2 separate regions of the Homo sapiens genome follow, and region 2 is linked to region 1. Evidence: promoter capture Hi-C in 16 types of primary human blood cells and fetal thymus (Javierre and others, 2016). All regions are on one chromosome and are shown on one strand. The core of a region is centred on a gene start or on the middle of the fragment in contact, and the rest is flanking DNA. Distances in the headings are between cores, read along the strand shown.

Region 1 (5,381 bases), core at 1,554-4,053:
AATGTCAAGATTTTCAGGTTCATCAACTCAGTCTTTGTTTCTTAAACTTCACACTTACAGTGCAGTACTTAAAATGTAAAAATGCACTTGTATTGTTTATATGGTTATTATTGAAATAAAACATCCAGGTCACTTATTTTGGCTTTGTTTAATAAAACAACAGAAACATCTGTCATTTTTTATAATAATTCTGTTGTCCTACTCACTGGGTGGCAAAAATGCACTCCCACTGCCTTGCATTGACCTGCCAATCTGGAGGCGATTCACTCCCCACTGACAGCCAAGTTTCACTGAGTTTTGGTCAAATAGAACAATTAAATCATCCTTTGGTTTTCCAAGCAGCTAAAATAATTTGAGAAAATAAAAACAAGCCATCTTTTAAACAAAAATGCATTACCTCCCAAAATGAAAAATTCATTTATCTCCGAATTGTCACCAGTAAGTTTTAAGGTTATAGCAAGCCACACCATGCAGTTCTTGTATAAGATGAATAAAATATTCCTGACTAATAACTCAATTCTAATTTTAAACAAATGCATTCAAACTGAGTTGAATACTTAGTTTGTATCACTCCCACAGTGTAAAAACCTTGCTTGGTTCTGATGTCGTTGACTGCTGGCCATAGACGATGAGGTCTCAATCTTACTAAGAGATTAAGGTTGGATGACAGTACCTTATCTCTCTGACAATGTATCCAACTCAAAGAGATAGCCTAGCTGGGCATTCAATTTCAGCGTTTTCCACTGTATATTAGGAAATGGGGACCTCGTCTAAGTTTCTGTTTGTTTTACTTTGTTTTTGCCGAGCAGGAATTAGCTGAACCCTGTTGGCAGCTCCTCCAGAAGCCCACGTGGGGTGGACCCAGCGACCACTTCCCATAAGACTACAGGCTCATCTACTGTTCTCTGGAATAAGGTTTCCTGGAGTACAAGTTCCAGTCTGTCCCTTGGTTTTGCCAAAGACAGATCCGCCTACTGACTATTCTCTGCTGTAATGACAACTGTGCTCTAAGACAAACAACTTATTCTTAGTGGAAAACAATTAATTTCAGCCATCACATGTGTTCCTCAACAGCCATTTATTCACACTGGCCCATCTTCCGGTATCAGACTGATACAAAACCCCCAAAGACTTGCCTGATGACAATTGAATGAGTGTCATGTATTTAACGGCATTTGTACTTTATTGCATTGCTTCCTGTTTTTTTTTTTTTTTAAGATGGGGAAATCTTTATAAGCAAAAAGATGATTAATTCTTCCCCCTGTCTTTAACGGCCATTCTCTCCCACAATCTCTAGAGAATCTCCAAATCTAAGTTGCGGGGAGGGATGCTGGGGAGCCACACTTTTAAGCAAAGTGTTCCTGAGGTTTTAGCTTAGACATCTACAAAACTGGAAGATTCCGTTTTATGGGGACATACGGACAGAACTCACTCGTTTTAGAACACTACTTAGCCAAACCTCTCAGCGAATCCTATACGGAATAGTCTTTAGCAGTATACATTTTGGAATCTTCTGTGTGCCCCAGAACACACAATATGGATCCAATTAGATTCAGCTGCCTTATGTTACAAACAAACATTGAAAGGGAGAAAACAGAAGTGGGAGTGGGAGCTTTGTTCATCCTCTCCTACGCCCCCGCGACCCCACACTCCCGAGGCGCGCGCATCCTCCCCACTCACTCGGGCAGCACCCACTCCCTAAATAGCCCAGCGTGGCCGGTGCCCCGCGAGCGCTCGGAGCGCTTTTCCGCTGCGGGCTTTTCACCGGATCTGGAAGGGATTTACCGGAGGGACTGGAGCCCAGCGCAGCAACCCCACCCCACCCCCACCGCCCCGGCCCGGGCGCGCCCCGCCCGCTCCCCGGCTCCAGGACTTACACCAGCGCCGACGGACAGGGCATCTGGTTCCAGGCACAGTTGTACTGAGCCTGAATAAAACTCTCACTTCCCTCCAGCACGGAGCAGCTCACATTCTTGTTCACGATGTAGGCGCACCAGTTCCTGGGGTGCAGGAGAGAGAGGGAGAGGGGCACGGGGTAAACCCGGAGAACAATGAGGCCAGGGGAGAGGGGACTGCGGCACCAGACCGAGCGAGGGTCGGGGGGGCCCGTCGCCCTCTGCGGAGGCGGGAGCTTCACCGAGCAGACGCCGGAGGGTGCCCGGGTGCGCCTCTGGAGAGCGCGCGCCTGGACCCGACCAAGACGGGAAAGAAAAGCACCCATGGTCCCAGGGGCTCATGGAATTCCTGGGAGTCGTTTTCGGATCGCCCGGGTCTGCGGGACGCTCTCTGCGCCCACGCCCCCGGAGTCAGCTCTGCCTGAGGCGCCGGCTGCGGAGCGCGCGGTCCCCCGCAGAGGGAGCCGCCCGGGGAAGTCCAAGGGAGGCCCCCGGCTGCCGCTCGTCGTCTTTGGCAGGGCAGCTCTGGGGCTCAACTGGGGGCCGGGGAGGGGTAGGCGGTTTGGGGCCAGCCAAGGGGCGCGCACTTACTTGTTCCTGGCGCTGGGCCGCGCGGGATACCCGGGCTGCGGGCCGGCGTGGCACAGCCCCGCGCCAACCAGGGCCAGCAGCGCCAGCGCCCAGCGCCAGGGCACGCGGGGCCAGGGCCGTCTGGGCTGCCACATCCCGCGCGCAGCGGGCGCGCCCCGCCTGCCCGGGTCCGGAGCGCGGCGGATCGGGGCACCGGCCACAAGGCTGCCGGCGGCCAGGGCGCCGCCCGCGAAGGCAAGAGGCTCGGGCGCTTCGCGGCGCTCCAACCAGTGCTCCGCGGCCGCCCCCTCCGGCTTCTCGTTCCTACTTCTCCTTCTGCAGCCCCGTGCGCCCTGCGCTTCTCCCCGGTCCCTCAATGACGCACAGGTCCCCCCGGGTGCCGCCCTCTTTATTTCACTTCCCTCTCCGAAACGTGACTCTCCCCCCACCAAGTCTCCCCGTCTCCAGTCCCTTCGCTTCTCGGCAGGGGGCTCGGGGTGGAGGGGCGAAAGGGTTTGGGATAAGGGTCTACGTTACAGCATTTCCAATGACTCATTCCTTTGGTCTCTTCCCAGATGCCGAGCGACTCCGCCTCCCACCTTCCGACAGGCTCGCTCCCGGCCCCCCGGGACGCGGCCGCCGTCGGCGAGTCTGGCCGTCCTCGCGTCGTGCCTGGGTGCCAGCCTCCCGGGGCGAATGAGGGACATGTTTATCAGTCCCGCGGGGAGAGGAGTGGGGGCTCGACTCGAATTTCCTCCTCGGGCAAGACAGGGCCGTTCCCCCACCAGCTCCATGGACCTAGAGAGTCCAGGAGGAAACGAACGCTGGTTCTTTCTTTGCCCAACTCTGCCTTAGGCACCATCTGACAGTTTCCGAGGCCACGCGGGGGGCGGCAGGACAGGACAAGCCACAGCCCCGCCAATTCCCAGAGGCTGCTGCAGCTCAGCGTCCGGCTCTATCACTTACTGCAATTCTCCTCCAATTCTTGAAAGGTGATCTCACAGCCTCTGCTTCTGAGGTCCCACTGTGAACTTTCTTTTTCTATTGAAACTAAGGCATTTACTCACGTTTGCTTCTTAACAGTTCAGGCACTGCTAGACATCCGTCTTAAACTTTCTTGTATGTTTTCTGCCTGTTGTTGAGTTACACTAATCTCTACCGATGTCTTTTTGGGATGAAGTACCAGAATGTTAAGTAAAATCACCACCCAAGTGTTGTATTCTAAGGGGTGTTGGAGAGAGCTGTGTGTTTGAGATGACCTGCTGCATCTAATCAATGTACAGGGTCGTGAGTGGCGTGGTTACCAGACTCCACAGATAAAACTGTGGCCTCTGTGAGCTAACCAGACGCTGTTGGCCATGACTCGTTAAGTGAATAAAGCTTTGCTATGGGCCAGGCGGGGTGGCTCACGCCTGTAATCCCAGCACTTTGGGAGGTCGAGGCGGGTGGATCACCTGACGTCGGGAGTTCAAGACCAGCCTGACCAACATGGAGAAACCCCGTCTCTACTAAAAGTACAAAAAAAAAAAAAAAATTTGCCGGGCACGGTGGCACATGCCTGTAATCCCAGCTACTTGGGAGGCTGAGGCAGGAGAATCGCTTGAACCAGAGAGATGGAGGTTGCAGTGAGCCGGGATCTCACCACTGCACTCCAGCCTGGGCAAAAAGAGTGAAAATCTGTCGCAAAAAATAAAAAATAAAAACGTTTGCTATGTTCCTACTTTACTAAATGAAGCCATTGGTCTATTTTGTTTCTAATATTCTTTGATGGTGTTGTTGGACCTTTTGATTTGCAGATGAAAGAAAGAGAAGTCCCTAAGTAGAAACTACAAGGGCCAAGCAGAACATTATACCATGTAAGGACATCATCTGTCCCTGGACTCTTAAGCGGAAGATCATGCAAATAGTGGACTGAAGTCATCCCAGCCTTCAAAAGAGCCACCGTGGGGGGGAAATAACAGAAAGGGATAAAAAGCTGTCTTTCGTAACCCAATCTGTATCTTTCTGTGTGACTTCCCTATCCTGCCTGTCCTAACACCATCTTGGCCGTAAAGACTCATAGAGTAGAAACAGAGTATAGAAATGAAGAAGAGGAAGAGGGGGGGAAATGGGGGAAACACACAAGTTGTGTGTGTCTACAATTAGCAGAGAACAACTCCAATGTGTGTCTGGTACAGGTAAATCTCAAACTTGAAAGTGCATTGAACTGATCAAGTCAATCTGTTTTTTCCGTCAAATCAAAGTTATAATAGGAAGTTGTCTAAGAGTATAAGGGCCAACTTGTCATTGAGATGACCACAATACTATATTTAATCAGCTATCAATAACATTTATTGGTAAATAAATTTCATTCTGAGCATCTGTTACAAGCTAGGCATTGTGCAAAAATACTGAGGATTCATGAGTGAGCCCAAACTGACACGGGGCTTGTGTTTGGAGAGCTTCCAGGCATTGCCATGCAATGAAGGGTGTTAGCGTTCCTGATGGACAGTCAACTAAGTGAGCTAATGTTTATTGCATGTCTTTCTCTAGACATAAGCCCATGTATGTTATTGTGGGTCTGCCCCTGGAAGACAGAACATTCTTGACTTTCAGAAGGTTACTTCCCTCTTTTGTATTTTTATTTATTTATTTGGGGGAAAGGGTCTCACTCTGTCACCCATGCTGGAGTCCAGTGGCATGATCATGGCTCACTGCAGCCTCGACCTCCCAGGCTCAAGCAATCCTCCTACCTTAGCCTCCTGAGTAGCTGAGACCACAGGTGTGTGCCATTACACTCAGCTAATTTTTTGAATTTTTGGTAGTGATGGGATCTCACCACGTTTCCCAGGCTGGTCTTGAACACTTAATCTCAAGCCATCCTCCTGTCTTGGCTTTTTAAAGTGCTGGGATTTCAGGCATGAGCCACTGTGCCCG
Region 2 (5,381 bases), core at 1,218-3,717, 260 kb before region 1:
GAAAATTGCTTGAGCCCAGGAGTTTGAGACCAGCCTGGGCAACATGGAGAAATCCCGTATCTATAAAAAAAATTGTTTTTAGGTAGCCTGGTGTGCTGGCACATGTCTGTGGTCCCAACTATTCAAGAGGCTGAGGCAGGAGGATTGCTTGATCCCAGGAGGTCCAGGCTACAGTGAGCTGAGATTGTGCCACTGTACTCCGCCTGAGCAACAGAGTGAAACTCTGTCTCAGAAATACATACATATATATATATATATATATATATATATATATATATAGACACAAACACATACACACATATATATACATACACATATACACACATAGATGTGTGTGTATATATATATACATGTGTGTATATATATATACATGTGTGTATATATGTATGTGTGTGTATATATACATGAAGTGGGACTGTCATACAAAAATAAATTATAAATGCTTTTTTTTTACAGCTCTTAGTAATTCTAGTTTAGTGGCACATATGTAGTGGATTCTCAGCACACATCTTGATCATTAAAAACTTGAGGATTTAGAATTTTAATACACTTTGGTTATTCACAAATTATTCAAACTCACAATTGTGTTAATTTCATGTCTATTTAGTAAGAAATAGCTATATTAAATTTACAGGAACAATTATTGTTTGTTTTGGTTTTAGTAGTTTAACATGCTTTTAAACAAATGGAAAGTGTTCATGATTCATGCTTTTAATTCTCCTCTTTTGCCAAGAATTCCATCTGAAATTATTCATGGAATGTCTCAAAAGGATTGGGGGGAAAAGCGACATATATGCTATAATGAGCACTTTGTATTTTGTCCTTTTGACCAAAGAATACAGTGGCTAACGCATGTGACACCTACGTACACTAGTCTCTGTTTCTGATGTTGGTGGCCACTAAATTAACTAAAAAGGAGAAACATCAAAGTGAGAATGGATATTGGAAACTCCTCTCTATCTACAGATGGTCTAGAGAGAAGACCATCTACAGCTAAAGTCACCTGCGTAGTGTTTGACAGAATCAAATCTAGACCACAAGTCTTGTATCCCTGGTGCTAGGTCACTAAATCATTACTACAGAGGAAGAGCCCCGTCTGTTTAAATGACATAAAACAGCCACTGCTTCATCAAACACCCATTGCTTCTACACCTGCTTCTACCAGGTTCGAGGCCTCAAGGAGGGCGTCAGCTACGTGTTCCGTGTTCGAGCCATAAACCAGGCGGGAGTTGGGAAGCCATCTGACCTTGCTGGCCCTGTTGTGGCAGAGACCCGTCCAGGTGGGCTTTCACCTTTTCATTAAAACTAATCCTATCTGTGTAAGATACTGAACTAAGGTTCGGCCTTTCTGTGCTTTCCTCTAATTTTCAAAACAATCAATGTGTGCTATCTGAATATAATTGATAAGTAATGATCTTAGAACATGACAGTCATTGGTCCCATCACAGGCACCTCAGGACAGGGTTGAGCCAGGTTTGACGTGGTCTAGGGGCTGTTCTGATGCATACCTAAAAACCCGGAAGTTCTTGATCAAGTTAAGCTTCCCGGACCAACTGTTCCAAGCATTCATTCCTGGAATGTTATTCCTATTACACCCTGGCCATTAAGTCTCATAAGAATATTTTCCCAATCATAGGGGAAGCTAGAACAGCCCAGCTAGTGGGCACAATCCTTAAACGAAAGTAGGATTTATGTAATTGTAGCTATTATGTTTAAACCAGAGGTCAGCAAACTTTTTCTGTGGAGGGCCAGATAATATTTATCACTCAACAGCCCTGTGGTCTCTGTCACAACTTCTTAACTCTGCCATGACACAAAAGAAGCCATTGAGGATACATAAACTAATGAGCATGGCTGTGTTCTAATAAAACTTTATCATGCACATTATATGTATTATATAATGTGATGCGTTATATGCATTATAAAATTTCAATCTTGTATAATTTTCCTGTGTTTTGAAATAGTAATCTTCTTTCAATTTTTTCAACTATTTAAAAATATAAAAACCATTCTTAGCTTGCAGCCCTTGCAAAAAGAGGTAATGGGCCAGATTTAGCCCACAGGCCATAGTTTGCTGACCCCTGGGCTAAACTAACAGTGGTCCCAACTGAATGGTTTATAGATTCGAGGCAGCCCTCATTTCCCAGTTTCAAAGATGCCGTGATTACTAGAGAAGACAGACTTGCCGTTTCTTATGAGAACAGAGTTTACTGTGTTCATTGTCCAACGAGTTTCAGATCATTACATAATAATTTCTTTTATCATTTAACCTGTATTATTTTTCAACGTTATCATATATTTCAGTTCATTAAAGTTACATAAAGGAAAGCACCGGAGGCCAGGCACTGTGGCTCATGTCTGTAATCCCAACACTTTGGGCAGCTGAGGCTGGAGGAACCTAGGAATTCGAGAGCAGCCTGGGCAACTTGGCAGAACCCCACCTCTACCAAATTTTTAAATTAGCTGGATGTGGTGGTGAGTGCCTGTAATCCTAGCTGCTCGGGAGGCTGAGGCAGGAAAATCGCGTGAACCCAGGAGGCAGAGGTTGCAGTGAGCTGAGATTGTGCCATTGCACTCCATCCCAGGCGACAGTGAGAGACTCCATCCCAAAAAAAGAAAGAAAATTTAAAAAAGAAAACTGCACTTGTATTTGCTTGCTAACTGATCTCTTTCATCTGCTAGAACCGTAGTTTTCAATCTTGCCTGTACATTAGAATCATACGAGGACTGTTTTGAAAATACTGCTATCTGGACTCAACTCCAGACCAATTAAATCAGGATCTTTAGGGCTGATGGGATGATGACAGAAGATCAGATATTCTAAAAAAAAAAAAAAAGAAAAAAAAGAATCTCTTAGGCTGGGTACCTGAACATAGGCTTATTGCTGTTTGTTTGTTTACTTAGCAATTTGGGTAATTCCAGTGTGAAAACAGGCTTGTGAACTGTACTTTAGACCATAGCTCCTCAAAATAGGAACTGTGTCTTTTCTGTACATGTGCTGAGAGTCTAACATAGTACCAGGTATATAATAGCTAATTTATTAAATGAAAAAATAATGAATGACTAGCATGTTTGCCAGTGAGTGTGACACTGTCTTGAAGCCTCAGTGTGTGCACTTCACCCCAGTCGTCTTGTACTGCCTGCCCTGGTTATGATGGGTGAGCTGGGGAAGAAATGTCTGGTGGAGGCTCCAAGGTGGGCATGAGGCTGAATGGTCAGCCGCCAGTCCTCGTCTGAAACCCAGGGCAGCTCAGTACTACACGTGACCCATTACATTAACTCACTTTCCTCTGCTTCTATTCTGTCCCATGCTTCAGTTTTTTAAACATCACCACACACACACGCACACCCCCACGCACACCCACAGCATGGAGAACAAATAATTAAAGCTTATAAAAGTGATATATTCATGCTCATGTAAAACACTTTATATGAGAAAGAATTATCATATCAGATTACAAAATGTATAGGAACGTGAACAGTTTACTGTGATTTTATTTAAGCTTTTAAATTTTATCCTTTATTATCATTTTTTGTGGGGAAGAGAAAGAAAAGTGGGATGAAATGAGTTAATTTCCAAATAGTTCATTTTAGTCCTGAGCCACACTTGAACCCATTAGGATACCAGGAGTTCTGGGCAAGCCTTGGAGGGATCATTGGAATGCTGTCTTGGCCCTGTAATCCCAACACTTTGGGAGTCCAGATAGGAGGATCACTTGAGCCCAGGAGTTGGAGACCACCCTGAGCAACATAGTGGGACCTGTCTCTATTAGAAAAGAATAGGAAAGAAAAAATAATAATAATAGTAATGTAAAATGAGATCTGTTAAAATCAGTTATCTCTGTGTCTGTATTAAGGATTCGCTTAGGTTGAGGAGTTGACTAGTGACAACTCTTCTTAAATCCTTTTTAGGCAACAACGACAACAACTCTCTCATGTTCTATACATAAACCTCCTGAGATCTTAGTTAAGTTCTTCACATTCATGAGCAGGTTAAGAGGTTGTTTCTGAGAAAATCTAAGTTATGCCAAATTTTGGTCCACTTTTCCAGCCCAACTTTGTGGGAAAGTGGGATGGCCTCTCATCTGGATAAGAATACCACAAAGACCACTTTACTTTGATAGCAGAACATCAAACTTGCTTCCTGCCCATTAATTATCAGAACCACATCCCTCAATCAACTTGAGAGAATATGCCTCTTTAGGCATTTCTCAGAGTTCAACCATAATTAATTGATAGGAGCTCAGCTCTGGAAAACCTCAGCTAAGTTGTGGGATATTCTAAAGAGAAAATTTGGCTAGGTACGGTGATTCACGCCTGTAATCCCAGCACTTTGGGAGGCCAAGGCGGGCGGATTACCTGAGGTCAGGGGTTCGAGACTAGCCTGGCCAACATGGTGAAACCCCATCTCTACTAAAAATACAAAAAAAATTAGCTGGGCGTGTGGCGGGCATCTGTAATCCCAGCTTCTCAGGAGGATAAGGCAGGAGAATCACTTGAACCTGGGAGGCAGAGGTCACAGTGAGCCAAGATCACATCACTGCACTCCAGCCTGGGCAACAGAGCAAGACTCCATCTCAAAAAAAAAAAGGAAAAAGAAAAAGGAAAATTTGAGGAGGATGTTATAGGTAGACTTTTCTGTCAGGCTTTTTCTGTGATATTGTACCAAGTTAATCTCCACAAGGCACTACCTGGTGGGTTAGCCTGGGGCATGTTAGAAATTCTGAAATGCTGTCATTGGCCGGACACGGTGCCTCACGCCTATTATCCCAGCACTTTGGGAGGCCAAGACAGGCGGATCACAAGGTCAGGAGTTCGAGATCAGCCTGGCCAACATGGTGAAACCCTGTTTCTACTGAAAATACAAAAATTAGCTGGGTGTGGTGGTCCGCACCTGTAATCCCAGCTACTTGGGAGACTGAGGCAGAATTGCTTGGACCCAGGAGGTGGAGGTTGCAGTGAGCTGAGATCACGCCACTGCACTCCAGCCTGGGTGACAGAGCAAGACTCCATCTCGAAAAAAAAAAAATGCTGTCATTGCTTTATAGGCTAATATATGGGCTTTGGTTTTGCTAGGGCATCTATAGAAAGAATCATCCATTTGAGTATCATGTACCTTTTGTTAAATTGCAATAGAATTTTTTGTCTACTATGTACAGGACCCTTATTTAAATAATTATTTAATTCCTCATCAAATTTATCAAGGAGGAGATCCAGCTTCAAATTCTGAGTATAAAATTAAGTAGGAAACCCACTGCCACTAGAATATTTTCTTTGTTAGTGTAATCGCCCATTAGGTTCTCCCTTCCCACTGCATAGACAAAATCAATCCACTGCGACTGCAGCATTGCAGTTGAGAATTTAATTGACCTGAGGCCAGC

The links. Contacts are between HindIII fragments. The CHiCAGO score rates a contact against its expected background, and 5 or more counts as called.
Region 2: a fragment that was not itself captured here is called in contact with the fragment with the promoter of EMILIN2 in region 1 in 4 of 17 cell types (activated CD4 T cells, naive CD4 T cells, naive CD8 T cells and 1 more); the score reaches 6.5 in activated CD4 T cells.

The regions. Positions count from the first base shown.
Region 1 is chr18:2,844,428-2,849,808 of GRCh38, reverse strand. EMILIN2 (elastin microfibril interfacer 2) reads right to left here and starts at 2,803. Exons shown (of 8, transcript NM_032048.3): 1 at 2,487-2,803; 2 at 1,878-2,000. The coding sequence starts at 2,620. RefSeq lists silencers at 1,826-1,915, 2,536-2,585. The HindIII fragment of the contact is 11,570 bases long and covers 1-3,847 here.
Region 2 is chr18:3,108,197-3,113,577 of GRCh38, reverse strand. It overlaps MYOM1 (myomesin 1), which reads left to right. Exons shown (of 38, transcript NM_003803.4): 22 at 1,166-1,280. Among named protein-coding and RNA genes, the nearest start is that of LPIN2, 98 kb to the right of the region's middle. The HindIII fragment of the contact is 1,849 bases long and covers 1,543-3,391 here.